5 separate regions of the Homo sapiens genome follow, and regions 1, 2, 4 and 5 are each linked to region 3. Evidence: promoter capture Hi-C in human tissues and cell types (Jung and others, 2019). All regions are on one chromosome and are shown on one strand. The core of a region is centred on a gene start or on the middle of the fragment in contact, and the rest is flanking DNA. Distances in the headings are between cores, read along the strand shown.

Region 1 (2,791 bases), core at 239-2,738, 90 kb before region 3:
TCCATAAGCTTTTTGAAACTCCCTTATATATACGGAGTCAAATCTCAATAAATATTACAGAGTAATTGGCTACTAAAATACAGAACCTCTGCACAAATGTCATTATTTTTGACAATAAACACTTTTTTTTTTTCATTTTTGATGCCTATTTTAAGTTTAAAATGATTTTCATCATTGTTTCAGGTGTTTGGGCCACATTCCTGAAACACGTTAAAACCTCCTCAAGTTTTCTTTCTAGCAGGGGTAGGGAGAGAGATATTAACTCAGTTAACCATCAAGACAATTTAATGAAATAGATGCTACTGTTTCCCCAATTTTACCCATGAGGAAACTGAGGCTCAGGGAAGTTAAACAAATTGCCCATCATGGAAAAAAAAAGGAGAAGAGCTAGGATTCAAACTCAATAAGTGTGTCTCCAGATTATTTGTCTGTGTTTTATATTAATATCTTATGTTAAAATGTTCCAGGTATTTCTCAGACTGTTATTGCACTTTTGTGAAATATTTATTAAATGCACATTCTGCCCCCCCATACCAGTCATTCTGTCAATGTTGGTACTCCATTATTACTAAGATACTCTCTCCCAAATTACTACATACCACATTTCCATTCAAAAAGTATCTGTGTTCAATAGAGAAGTAAAGCACCCTCATACTGCACCTTCATTGCAGTATTTTTTCATATTATAGAAGTTTCCATCCTTACCCACACACCTTGACCTCTTTTATCACCCCATTCCACACAGATCAACTCATTTATTTTCAGCCAAAGAAAAATATTAAACTACGAGTTTGAACTTGAAATTTCAAAAGATAGGGGAAAATGCAATTGATAGTGCAGACATTGCATTTGAGTGCTTCTCTCTCTCTCTCTCTCTACATGCACACACACACACACACACACACACACACACACACACAAATATCTTGGCAGAAAATAAAACGCATGGACCCAGAAAACTGTTAGGTTAAGGGCAAAAAAAAAAGTTTCTTTCTGGTCCTTATAAAGCTTGTAGTTCAATGACACTAAAACCAATTGCTGTGGTTTGAATGTTGTGTCTCCAAAAATGGCATTAAGAGGTGGGCCTTTGGGGGGGCTCTGCCCTCATGAATGGAATTAGTGCCTTTATAAAAGAGGCCAAGAAGCTTGCTTACCCCTTCTGTGGTGGGAAGACATATAGAAGTTACCACCATAAGGAATGGGCTCTCACCAGACAGAATCTGCCAGGGCCTTGATCCAGGAGTTTCCAGCTTCCAGAACTGTAAGTAATACATTTCTGTTATTTATAAATTACCCGGTCTAAGGTATTTTGTTATAATGACCCAAATGGTCTAACATACCAACTAAAAATCTATGTGACAAGTAAGCATATGCTTTTCCCTGAGGCACAACTGGTGTTATGGCATTCAAGATCTATGGACAAAACCTGAATGTGTGTTTGAAAATCGATCAAGCAACGCTTTTCTTGTCTTCTGAATTTTGATCCAGTTGATCATTCAGATATCACCTGAATATAACATGTTGTACAAAACCAAACAGAACTGTTGAATTATTAGAAACTCTGTTTAACCGTCATTTCAAAATGAAACGGCATTAATGACATCAAAAAATTCTTTTATAGGAGAAATAATTTAAAAACCAGAAATGTGAAATTAAAAGACAGAAAAGCAAATCTCAAAAGGCACATGAACTCAGCAGATGGATTTACACAGTTTTCTCATCTTCAAACTTCAGAAAAAGATTTTGATTATCTCCCTTGAAAACTGTTGTTATCATTAAAATAAAAATTCCATCATCACTTCCCTTTCACTTAGTATTCAGGATAATCACAAGCTCAAAAATAGAATTTAAATTTCTGACTAATAGTGCAATAAAAGAGTAGAGAAATATAATGCAGGCAATATGCATTTGTTTAAGTACATTTTAGCAAATGGCTCCTTTAGATCTAGCATTTATTATTTTACACAGATAGATGAGTTACATATTTTATTTTTCCCTCATGTGCTAATATTCAACAAAGTTCTAAATGAAAAATACTTCTATTTAAAGTTATTCATCATAGTATACCATTATTGAAAACAAATCTGTAGGGTAAATATCATATGCACAACAAACTGATGAAGCTTAAATTAGCTCAATATTAAAAAGATATTTACATATATTTTTCTTTCTCTCTTTCTCTCTCTCTCTCTGATGTTCCATGTATATTTTTATTATAAGAAAAGCTACACAGGGTACCACATAGGATCATTCTGAAGACTGTCACTTAATACCTGCTATCATTTTGGTAATTTAAAAAATTACTATATATTCAAATATAAAAGTTATGTTAATAAGTAAAAAGTGGAAAAAAATCAAATACCTGCTCCTCAAGTCAGAGAACACAAATAATAGATGATAATGTTTGAGTTAATTGTGAGGCTGTAATTTGCAGCAGATTTATTTTCATGGTCAAGGTGACTTCTGGATATACTGAGTGAATCCTTACACAAAACTATACCAAAAAGAAAACATGTGTCAACCCTGTGGGTGGAGGTGACATGCAATTTAAAATGTTTAATTACACATTTCACCTTAGCTAAACATCCTGAAAGATGACATGATCTAATTGGAGATTAATGCATTATTTCTCTAAGGCCACAAATGAAGTAGCAGCTAGAGAAAGTATCTCTCTGATTCTCTAAGTAGTCCAAGAATTCTATGAAGTGCCTTTGTTCACCATGTGAATCTGAATAATTTGCCTTAATATCACTGACCCTATAAAAACAACTGAAATGTTAGTAGACATATA
Region 2 (2,740 bases), core at 6-2,505, 71 kb after region 3:
AGTAGCTAGAACTACAGGTGCCCGCCACCATGCCCAGCTAATTTTTTGTATTTTTTAGTAGAGACGGGGTTTCACCATGTTAGCCAGGATGGTCTCGATCTCCTGACCTCGTGATCCGCCCACCTCGGCCTCCCAAAGTGCTGGGATTACAGGCGTGAGCCACCGCACCCGGCCCTTTTTTTTCCCCTTTAATTAATCATGGGTTCACTGGGGTAGCACTTTTAATTTCTTTCAATAATCTTTTCTCTGCATTTACAACTTGGCCAACTGTTTGGTGCAAGAGGCCTAGCTTTTGGCCTATCTTGGCTTTTGACATGCCTTCCTGATTAAGTTGAATCATGTCTAGCTTCTGATTTAAAGGAAGATGAATAACTCTTTCCTTCACTTGAACACTTAGAAGCACTTGAAGGATTATTGCTTGGCCTTTTCAATATATTGTTTTCTGTCGGGATAAGGACTGATATCTAACTGAGATGCAAAATTTTTAAGCACAGTTGAGCACAATGACTTAGGCGGTCTCATGCAAGGTATGCTCAGTTTCTGCAAAATAATAATAAAAAAGAATATTTTTCCATTTTACTTCCTTTCTCGGTAATCAACATAGCATCCTGATTTATAGGGGAAAAGATGTGGTCAAACCCACAGGTAACTGATACAGAAGTCATTTGCAAAAGCCTGCTGAAACCCAAGGCCTTTCCACCACCACCCCTGCTTCCCCAGAAGAGAATGCCATGGTTTGGTTGCTTATGTCCATTATCCCATTATTTTTGTTCAACTCTTGATTGTTGCTCTATGTTAGAGGATGTGTAATAAACGGTCTTGCTGCTTACTAAGATTTTTGCCTTGTAGGAGAAAAAAATAAGACAAGAGCCTAATTACTCTTTTTGTGTGATTCCAAATGCTCCAACAGGCTACTCTTGTATTTATCGTCCTTTCCATATCTCAGGATTCAACTTTTTAGGACCTTGCTATTCAAAGTGGGGTACATCAGCAGCAACATTGAGATCACCTGGCAGTTTGTTAGAAACAATGAATCTCAGATACACTTTAGACCCATGGAATAAACATCTGCGTTTAATAATATATCCTAGTGAATCTCATGCACGTCAATATTTGAAAAGCACTACATTAGGAGACAGAACTATCTGGGTATGAATTCTGGTATTACCTCTTAAAAGCTTTGTGACCTTGGCCGACTGAGGATCATATTCATCATAGGTGAAATAGAAATAATAAAGACTCCTCCTTCGACTGCTCCCAGTGCGGGGCCTCGCAGGCGACGTGGGCCGAGCACCCGCTGCTTCCGGAGCCCTCGGGGCGGCGGACTGGCTCACGGTGCAGATTCTTCCTAACCTGTTGGTGAGAACTACAACACAAGATGGCCGCAAATAAGCCCAAGGGTCAGAATAATTTGGCCTTACACAAAGTCATCACGGTGGGCAGTGCCGGTGTGGGCAAGGCAGCTCTGACTCTACAGTTCATGTACGATCAAAGAAGGCACCTATCGGAAGAGAGTAGTACTGGATGGCGAGGAAGTACAGATCGGTATCTTAGAAACAGCTGGGCAGGAGGACTATGCTGCAATTAGGGACAACTATTTCCGAAGCAGAGAGGGGTTTCTCTGTGTCTTCTCTATTACAGAAATGGAATCCTTTGCAGCTACAGCTGACTTCAGGGAGCAGATTTTAAGAGTAAAAGAAGATGAGAATGTTCCATTTCTACTGGTTGGTAACAAATCAGATTTAGAAGATAAAAGGCCGGTTTCTGTAAAAGAGGCAAAAAACAGAGCTGACCAGTGGAATGTTAACTATGTGGAAACATCTGCTAAAACACAGCTAATGTTGACAAGGTACTTTTTGATTTAATGAGAGAAATTCGAGCAAAAAAGATGGAAGACAGCAAAGAAAAGAATGGAAAAAAGAAGAGGAAAAGTTCAGCCAAGAGAATCAGAGAAAGGTGCTGCATTTTATAATCAAAGTCCAAATTCCTTTCTTATCTTGACCATACTAATAAATATAATTTATAAGCATTGCCATTGAAGGCTCAATTACTGAAATTACTTTAACATTTTGGAAATTGTTGTATATCACTAAAAGCATGAATTGGAACTGCAATAAAAGTCAAATTTACTTAAAAAAGAAATAAATGTGGCTTTACCAAGAGGCAAAGTTCAACTTATTTCATTATTGCCTACATTTATCATCGTCCTGAATGTAGCATATGAGCTTGCTTTTCTCAGGCAGTCTTTCTTGAAATGTTAAAGAGGTGAGATGGGGGTGGGGAATGGGAGGAAAGGTGACTTTCTCTCGTGTTTTTTTAAATAAAGCTTAAATTTTATATCATTTTAAAATATATTGGTCTTCTACTACCTTGAAAAATGACAATTGTGAACATGATAAACTGTACCACTTTTTTTTAAACCATCGTTATGCAAAATTTAGAAGAAAAAGTTATTGGTATGGTTGTTGCATGTAGTTAAACTGAGAGTAATTCATCTGTGAATCTGATTTAATTACCTGTTGAGTAATTTAGAAAAGTGCTGTAAATGTGTACATGGAAATTTTTGAATATACCTTAATTTAGAAACTGAAAAACACCCAGTTATATCATTCTGGATGTGTTCTTGCTGACACCAGGGTTCCACTGCCCCATGTGTCATGGTGAGAAAATATATGCCCAGCATGGAGTACTGCTTTTGTATAAAAGATCCTTGAGAAGTAACTGGCTGCTAGGACTCTGC
Region 3 (2,751 bases), core at 252-2,751:
AATATTGTCCTATTAAAAGAAAATAAAGCCAGGCATAAGTTTGGTATCCAGACAATAAAATGCAAATAGTACAAAGGTAGAATAAAGTGAAAATTCTACACAAATGTAGCTTCCATACAAAAGTTAAACAGTTGCTTTATTTCACGAAAGGGTTAATACTGGAGAAAGTGAATATCAACATGTACACAAAGCTAACTAGAAGATTAGCTTTCTCAAAGTAGAAATCCAAGCCTCCCTATAAAATTGTTGTCCCTTGCAAATGTTTTGAAACTTTACATTTTTTGATCCCCCAACAACAGGCCATACCAAGAAACCTCAGGAAAGTAATAATCTATTTTAATTGTTTTTTTTTTTTTGTTACTCAAGAAAGCTTTCAAAGTTCAGATATTAACACTGATGTGCAATACCAAATTGTTAGCCCCACAGGACAGATGGAAACAGGAAAAGTCAGATGGTTGGCACTCAAAAGCAAAAGCAATTAAGCAGTTGAAAGTGGGTTGGATTGTCGGTTTATTTTTGTTCCATTTGAACGAATCAAGTGAGAGACATAGACTCTTGCAAGGAGGAAATCAAGTCAAACTTGACGCTTCCTCTCTCTGACAGCCCAAGCTGGACTGGTTGTCTACTCCCCTTATTCAGTTTAATTGCTTTATGTGCTCTGATTTTCGCAGAGCTTGTATTCTATCTTGTTTACGTTCCCCCCCCCCCCCATATCCCTCTCCCCAACAGAAAGAAATCTTTCTCCTTTCTTCACTCCCCCTCTTTCCTCTAAGAAAGGCAATCCTCTCCAGGAGGAGAAAGAAACGCTGTGCGTGCTTAGGGTGGGAGGAGGGCGAGAGGGGAGGTGTGGGAGAGAAAGAGAGAAAAGATTGAGATTGGGGGTGGGGGACGGAGGAGAGAGAACAAGAGAAGGAAAGAGGAAGCAAGAAGATGGGGGATGCCCAACATCAACTCCAGGCTCTAAATCACGGGCGCTGTGCAAAGTGCTTTTCCAGGAGATGCACATGTAGTCTCATATTTCTCACAATAGGCCACCCGGGGATCCCTCCCTAGGTCTCAGACTCCCACCACTAAAACCCAAGTGTATCGAGAAGAAAATCTTTGGGATGGATTCGAGCAGATAGGCACCGCCGAGGTGGCCGCGCCGCCAGTCCCGCTTCCTTACCTGGAGGGCGGACCGGGAGGTGGTGCCGGGTCTCGGTCCCCAGTGCTCTCCCCGCGTGGACCGGCGCGAGGCACACGCGTACTCTCGCTGCCTCCGCTCTTGGAGGGGCAGCCTGCAACACAAAAGGGGTGTGTGGGTGTGGGTGTGTGGGAGGTTTTCCAGGGCCACCAGCTGGTCCCACGTGGTCGCCCCCACCCTACACACACCCCTTCGGGGCGCCAAGCCCCCCTCTCGGCTGAGCACCACCCTGGGGACTTGCCCGGGGTGCAGCCTCAAGTTGCCGCTGCTAACTGCTGCTGCCGCTGCCGCTGCTGCAGGAGGAGGTGGAAAGACACTGGGGGCAGTACTCGGTCTAGAGCATCCCCACACTGCAGCTTCTCCAGGAATCCCTCCAGTGAGGAGGCGGCCGCCCATCATCTCCGAGCCCCAGCATCCTGATTGGCTCCACCTCGGGTACGCTGCGCCAAGGAGCCAATCCCCGCGCACTAATAATAGGTGGATCCGTTCAGCCAACATCGCCCATCCCAGTTCTGTTAGTGTCTCTCCATCCCCACAGCGGACAGGGACCTGGGAAGCGGGGTGGAGGCGGGTTGGGGGAGGGGGTGAAGTAAGAGGGGAACAGATCCCAAGGAGACACAATCAAGGGCGTCTGATAAAACCTCTAGGTAGACTCAGGAATGCCCCACAAGCTGTTCAGCAAGCAGTATGCACAGGAGAAAGAGAGCATAATACAAAGCTTTTTTTTTTTTTTTTTTACTCTCAATCAAAACCTACCCTGATACTGAGCATGCCCAGACTGCAACAGCGACCTAGGAGTTTCGATGTGTGTGGGTTCGCCAGCTGTGGGTTTTTGAAAAGCTGGGACCGGGGACAGGAGAGGTAGAAGTTTGTCTTTGGCCATTTAACCCGGCGGAGTTGTGAAAGCTGGGTAGGGTGGGGATGTGAAAGGGTTCCGCACAAGTGTCCTCAAACTGAGCCGCGGGGAGGTGGCCCACCTGGCTGCCGGAGGCTCATCATGCTGTTCTTCTGGGGTTCCGGGTTGGAAGCGGGGGCGGGATAAGCTGAGCTTTGCTGGAAGCCTGGGGACTTCCCGCGAAGGGTGCGGTGGAGCCGAGATGCGGGAGAAGCAGCTCCGTCCCATAGGTGGGGCCGGGAGCGCGACTCCACCCATCAGCGGCGGCTGCCAGGCCGTGGAGAGTGCACTGGGAGTTTCCATTGCAGCGACCAATAAGTTTGTACACTTGGGTCAAGTGCAACATTGTTGGAGATGCTTTTTTATTTTTTCATTTTTATTTTTTGCCACCTCCCTCCCCCATCTCTCTCGACCCCTTGCCAGAGCAGTGACGACTAAAGCATAGATTCTCTCCCTGCTTCCTCTCTTCCCAGCTGAACCGTTCTGCTCGGAAGTAAGAAGCTTTTCTCTTGTGAGGGCGGTGGTGACCTGATTGTCTCTAAGCTCTCAGGCAATTTATAGCTTGGTAATACCGAAATACCGAACAGGAAGGCTCAGCGGGTGGGGGAAGGGACCGCGCGCCAGGCTAGGGGCGGGAGCGGAGCCCAGCTGGGAGAGGGGCCCGTCCATTATC
Region 4 (2,827 bases), core at 18-2,517, 94 kb after region 3:
TCTGATAGAGGTCCCTTTATGTACTTGGCTGAGAGCTGTGGAGAATATGCACAAAGAAGGAAAAATAAAACACACACACACCATTCTGGCAAGTCAAAAATAATTATCTCTCCTAAATATATGGATTTTCTTTTAGCATTATTGATACTGTGTTCACTGTTCTTCTTTCCTCTGTTTACTAGGAGTCTCATAGACAAATTTGTGGCTTATCAATTTGTGTAATTGATAAAGTAGTGTTACAGTAATTGATTTGTCCAAATAAACAAAATATGATATTCTTTAAGGAAGACAACATTCAGATTCTCTACAGCACATCAACCACAGTGTCCAGAATATAATTTAAAACAAATAATATTAGAAGTATAAAGAAACAAGAGTATGTGGCCAGAAATGAAGGTGACAGTTAATAAAAACAGACCTTCAGGATGACCTAGATGCTGGAATTAGCAGACAAAGACTTCACTGTAACTAGTAGTAATATGTTCAGTGATTTACATAAAAGATATAAATAATTAATATATAGAAAATCTCAATAGAGAAATAGGAAACAAGAACCAAATGAAAATTTTAATACTAAAATTATAATATCTGACAATTTTAAAATGTTCTAAATGAATATAACAACAAACTTGAGACTAAAAAATAAAAGGTCAGAATTCAAAGACAAACAAAAATAATTCCATGACAAGATCTGAGGAAAGAAAGGTTGAAAAACAAAGGAATACAGCTTCAGTAACCATAAGGCAATATCAGCCAGTTTACCATTGCATGCTGGAGTCCAAGAAAGAAAATAGAGAGAGAATGGGAAAGAAAAATATATTCGAAGAAATAATATCAGAAATTTCTCTAATTTCAGGGCAAAATATCAACTTGTAGATAAATAAGCTTGGTGAACTCTAAGAAGGATAAATACAAAGAAAACCACACATACTGTATCTTAGTCCATTTTTGAAAATTAAGTATAAAGGAAAACATACATCAAATATAGAAAAATATGAATATCATGACAGCAGACTTTTCATTGGTAGGAAAAATGGAGGCTAGAAGATAGTGGAGTGATATTGTCTATGTAATATCATTATGTGATGATATCTTTAAAGTGCTGGAACAAAAATACTAACAAAACAGTCAAAACCCCAAAATGTTGTATGTACTATAACAACATATAACAACATATAACATATATACAACAACATATAACAAAATGTTGTATGTATATCTCTCAAAGATGAGGATGAAAATTAAAATTTCCAGATAAACAAAAGATGAGAAAATTAGTTACTAATGAATATACACTTCAAAATATGCTAAAGAAAATATTTTAGACTGAAAGTTACTGATACCAGATAGAATTTCAGATCTGCAGGAAGAATGAAGACCACCAGAGTGGCAAATATGTGGGTAAATATGAAGGAATATATATTTTTTCTTCTCTTGATTTCTTCAAAAGTCAATTGACTAAAAAATAAAAAGGGTATTATTGTAAAGTTTGTAAACTTTGTAGAGGTAAATCATAACAACAACATAAAGAAGAGAATAGAGTAATTGGAACTACACTATTGTAAGTTTCATTTTATTTTGAAAATGACAGATTGTATATTTTCTGTGAACAACGTGATATTTTGAAAAATGTATACATTGGGGAATGGCTAAGTCAAGCTAATTAAAATATACATTACCTCACATAGTTATAATTTTTGTGGTGAGAACATAAGACCTCCCTTAAAATTTTTTGAGATTACAATACATAATTTAAAAAATTGGAATACAAAATATAATACATTGTTCTTAACTATAGTCACCATGCTGTACAATAAATCTCTTGAACTTACTCCTTCTATCTTCCTGAAACTTTGTAACTTTTGACTAACATCTTCCAAACCTCCTCTCCCACCACCATCCAAATCCCTGTTAATCACCATTCTACTCTCTACCTCTATGAGTTCTACTTTTTTAGAATCAACATACATGTGAAATCATACAATATTTGTTTTTCTCTGTCTGGCTTATTTCACTTGACATAATGTCCTCCAGGTTCATCATTGCTGCCCCAAATGAGAGAATTTTCTTTTTCTTAGCTGAATAGTATTCCATTGTGTATGTATACCATATTTTCTTCATTCATCTGTTGATGGATATTTTAGGTTGATTCCATATGTTGGCTATTGTGAATAATGCTGCAACAAACATGGGAGTGCAGATATATCCACAACATGATTATTTTATTTCCTTTGGATAAATACCCATATGGGATTGCCGGATTATATGTTAGTTCTAATTTTGGTTTATTGAGGAACTTCCATATTGTTTTCCATAATGACTGTGTTAATTTATATTCTCACCAACAGTGTGCATGAATTCCCATTTCTTCGCATTTTCTCCAACATTTATCTTTTGTCTTTTAGATAATAGCTGTTCTACCTGGAGAAAGGTGATATTTCATTATGGTTTTAATTTCTATTTTCCTGACGATGAGCATTTTTTCCAAATACCTGCTGGACATTTGTGTATCCTCTTTTGAAAAATCTGTTCAGGACCTTTGCCCATTTTAAAATCAGATTGTTTTCTTGCTATTGAATTGAGTTTTTTCTATATTTTGCATATTAACCACTTATCATATGTACGGCTTGTATTTTCTCGCATTGTGTAGGCTGTCTTTTCACTCAGTTGATTGTTTCCTTTGCTGTGCAGAAGCTTTTTAGTTCAATGTAATTCCATTTGTCTATTTTTGCTTTTGTTGCCTGTGTTTTTGGGGTCATATCCAAAAAAATCATTGCCTAGACACATGTCACGGAGCTTTTCAGCTATGTTTTATTCTAATAGACTT
Region 5 (2,782 bases), core at 214-2,713, 69 kb before region 3:
TTTTTTCTTAGTTCTCAGCATAAAGCAAGGGTAACTAATCCCACAGTTTTCTTTACCCAAGCTGAACCTATAATTTGGAAAATTATTCATATCCATTCTTGTATATTCACATTCCTTTTTGGAGGGTCTTACTTCTGTTCTGTTCTATAACTTAGTATATAGCCTTTCTTCTGATGAATTGTTATTTTTACCAAAGCAGTAAAATGTCGTTTGCTGAAAACATGAACCATGCCTATATTGTAGCCACAGGGCCTAGCATACTGCCTGATTCACAGCAGGAGCTCAAAATTTATTAATTGAATAAATGATTAATTGAAACAACGAGACCCAGAACTAACCTCTCAGAACCTTCACAGCAGAGTGTCTGCTTTGAAGTTAAGAGCAACCTTCATGGAAAATGCAATCAGTGCTACCGAGGGGACGGGATGTCTCTGCAGCCATCTCCAGACACCTACTTGCTTCCTATGGTTGCCCACCTGTCCAAAGACAGATTCAAAATTCTCTAGGTCAAGGATGTACCATCCTCACAGTTTAAATCTTTTAAATTATAAAATTTCAATTTTAGTCTTTTCCATGTTTTTGCATTTCATTCATTGGAAATGAATTCAGCCAATTATAGACTCGGGCGAGGCATGATTTCCGTGGAGCACGAGACGAGATCTGGGCTTTGGTTATTTTATACCTCAGTTACCAACATGTAATACCTTTTCTCTAAGGGCAGAAAGCACGATCTGCTTGAATTCCTAAATTCAAGATTTCATCTACCCGCAGAGAATGTGGAGGCCGTGCAGCCATCACCATGCTTCTAATACTTTCTAAAGACAAAAATTATATGCCACATTCTTTAGAGAGAGCCTTGACTTATTTGTGTAGTAAATTTCAGTGTATCTTTTCAAAAAAATGTTCAGATTTTATTTCAATATAAATATTTTGCTCCAGATTTTCCACTTCAACTTCTTTCTTTTTCTATATTCCACATAGAAAATTAATCTAGTTTTTGACTGCGTGACAGGTGTTTTCAATTCCGGACATGATGTAAGACAAGTGTTTTTTCTGTTGTTGTTATTTCGTTTTATTTGTTTGTTTTTTGAGACAGAGTCTTGCTCTATTATCCAGGCTAAAGTGCAATGGCACAATCATGGCTCACTGCAGCCTCAACCCCACAGGCTCAGGTGATCCTCCCATCTCAGCTTCCTGGGTAGCTGAGACTACAGATGTGCACCACCACACCTGGCTAATTGTTTTGTTTTGTTTGTTTGTTTGTTTTTGTAGAGATAGGTTTTTGCCCTGTTGCCCAGGCTGGTCTTGAACTCCTTGACTCAAGTGATTCACCCTGTGATTCAATTATCTCCACCTGGCCCTGTCCTTGACACATGACGGTTATTCAAGGTGAGATTTGGATGGGGACACAGCCAGACCATATCAACAGGTATGGTGTGTGTGTGTGTGTGTATGTGTGTGTGTGTACACACGCACATACACACACACACATATATACACACACATATGTATATACACACATATATATATGTAAAAACAGTGTATATAGGGTTTACTACTATCTGTGGTTCAGGCATCCATTGGGGGTCTTGGAACATATCCCCCTGAATAAAGGGAATAACTGTATTGACCAAAAAGACATATAAACTGCATCCCTTAAATACAGAACATTATACTCAATTTCTCCTACTGAGATTCCTATGTTTCTGGAAATAACCAAACAGACAAACACACAAAGCAGGCATGTTCCCTTAAATTTTAATGTTATCGGATTCTACCCCATCTCAATCTCTCTTTCACTTTTCTCTCACTCTTTATTTCTCTCTTGATGAGGTAAAACAAGGATTTATTAAAAAAATTGGCCTGTAGAATTTATGCTAATATCTGTGATGGAAGTTTATGATGAATTATCAAAAATTATTAAACTAATGCTAAAACAGTATCCAAGGTGATCTGAAACATAAAGTTGAGTGCACCTGACATATATCTCTATCTTTTAAATGAGATGGTTATTAATAAACTGTACTAGCAAAATACTAATTTTTTAAATGGTCTTGAACTTGACAAGTAGAGTGAAAAGAAATGGGACCTTGAGAAACAGGACCTTAAGAAATAGAACATTACATTTAAGCCAAAATCAAATTATTTTTACTACTAAATTCAAGAATATAGAAGCCATAACAATGATTTTCCTGGGTTACTCTTATATTGATAATATATGCTAAAATGTTTATTTAGTAAGTTCTAGCTCCTTTTTTGACCTCTTCACTTTCCCACCGCAAACTTTTGTCTTCCTTCCTCTGGTAAGAGTTTCTTAGAGGCTCTATAACTCAGCCAAATTCATTTTAGACAAGACAGGCTCACAGAAGTTGATACACTGAGGTCAAGATTGCCCTGGTATTAGTCACACAGATTCATCTAACCATATGCAGACCAACATGGTAGAAAGCAAGATGATAAAGAGAGATGAGGAAATATCTATGCCCTAGATATTTCTTCACAGGTGCACTCTTTCAAAGTCGAGAAGAGTAAGTTAAAAATATTACTCAACTTGACTGCTTAGAGGCTTTCTTCAAAATCAAACAAATATTTCCAAGGATACCAGGAGTGATGTCCAATAACCTTTATACTTTTGGACGTCTTAAGGTGATATAAATTTGCTTTTTTAGAACTTAGTTTTTTTGCATGAAAGTAAGACGTTCTGAGATTTTGTGTTTGAGACAAGATATAAGAATTTATGCGCCTATAATTGAAATGATGAAACAAAATGAATAATTATTTT

The links. Contacts are between HindIII fragments. The study calls those that stand out against the background at their distance.
Region 1: a contact is called between a fragment that was not itself captured here and the fragment with the promoter of SYT1 in region 3, in 4 of the 25 tissues and cell types used here (dorsolateral prefrontal cortex, liver, lymphoblastoid cells and 1 more).
Region 2: a fragment that was not itself captured here is called in contact with the fragment with the promoter of SYT1 in region 3 in 4 of the 25 tissues and cell types used here (adrenal gland, mesenchymal stem cells, spleen and 1 more).
Region 4: a contact is called between a fragment that was not itself captured here and the fragment with the promoter of SYT1 in region 3, in 2 of the 25 tissues and cell types used here (hippocampus and lymphoblastoid cells).
Region 5: a contact is called between a fragment that was not itself captured here and the fragment with the promoter of SYT1 in region 3, in 4 of the 25 tissues and cell types used here (dorsolateral prefrontal cortex, hippocampus, mesendoderm cells and 1 more).

What each region holds. Positions count from the first base shown.
Region 1 is chr12:78,953,930-78,956,720 of GRCh38, reverse strand. The region is part of intron 1 of SYT1 (synaptotagmin 1); the gene reads right to left. The region is part of intron 5 of LOC105369863 (a long non-coding RNA gene); the gene reads left to right. Among named protein-coding and RNA genes, the nearest start is that of SYT1, 91 kb to the right of the region's middle. The HindIII fragment of the contact is 3,775 bases long and covers 1-2,791 here.
Region 2 is chr12:78,792,753-78,795,492 of GRCh38, reverse strand. It overlaps the pseudogene LOC642550. Among named protein-coding and RNA genes, the nearest start is that of SYT1, 71 kb to the left of the region's middle. RefSeq lists an enhancer at 907-2,106. The HindIII fragment of the contact is 4,145 bases long and covers 1-2,740 here.
Region 3 is chr12:78,863,524-78,866,274 of GRCh38, reverse strand. It overlaps SYT1 (synaptotagmin 1), which reads right to left and starts at 1,501. Exons shown (of 11, transcript NM_005639.3): 1 at 1,166-1,501. RefSeq lists a silencer at 2,658-2,717. The HindIII fragment of the contact is 3,235 bases long and covers 1,137-2,751 here.
Region 4 is chr12:78,768,958-78,771,784 of GRCh38, reverse strand. No RefSeq gene overlaps it. Among named protein-coding and RNA genes, the nearest start is that of SYT1, 94 kb to the left of the region's middle. The HindIII fragment of the contact is 6,830 bases long and covers 1-2,827 here.
Region 5 is chr12:78,932,844-78,935,625 of GRCh38, reverse strand. The region is part of intron 1 of SYT1 (synaptotagmin 1); the gene reads right to left. The region is part of intron 6 of LOC105369863 (a long non-coding RNA gene); the gene reads left to right. Among named protein-coding and RNA genes, the nearest start is that of SYT1, 69 kb to the right of the region's middle. The HindIII fragment of the contact is 4,770 bases long and covers 1-2,782 here.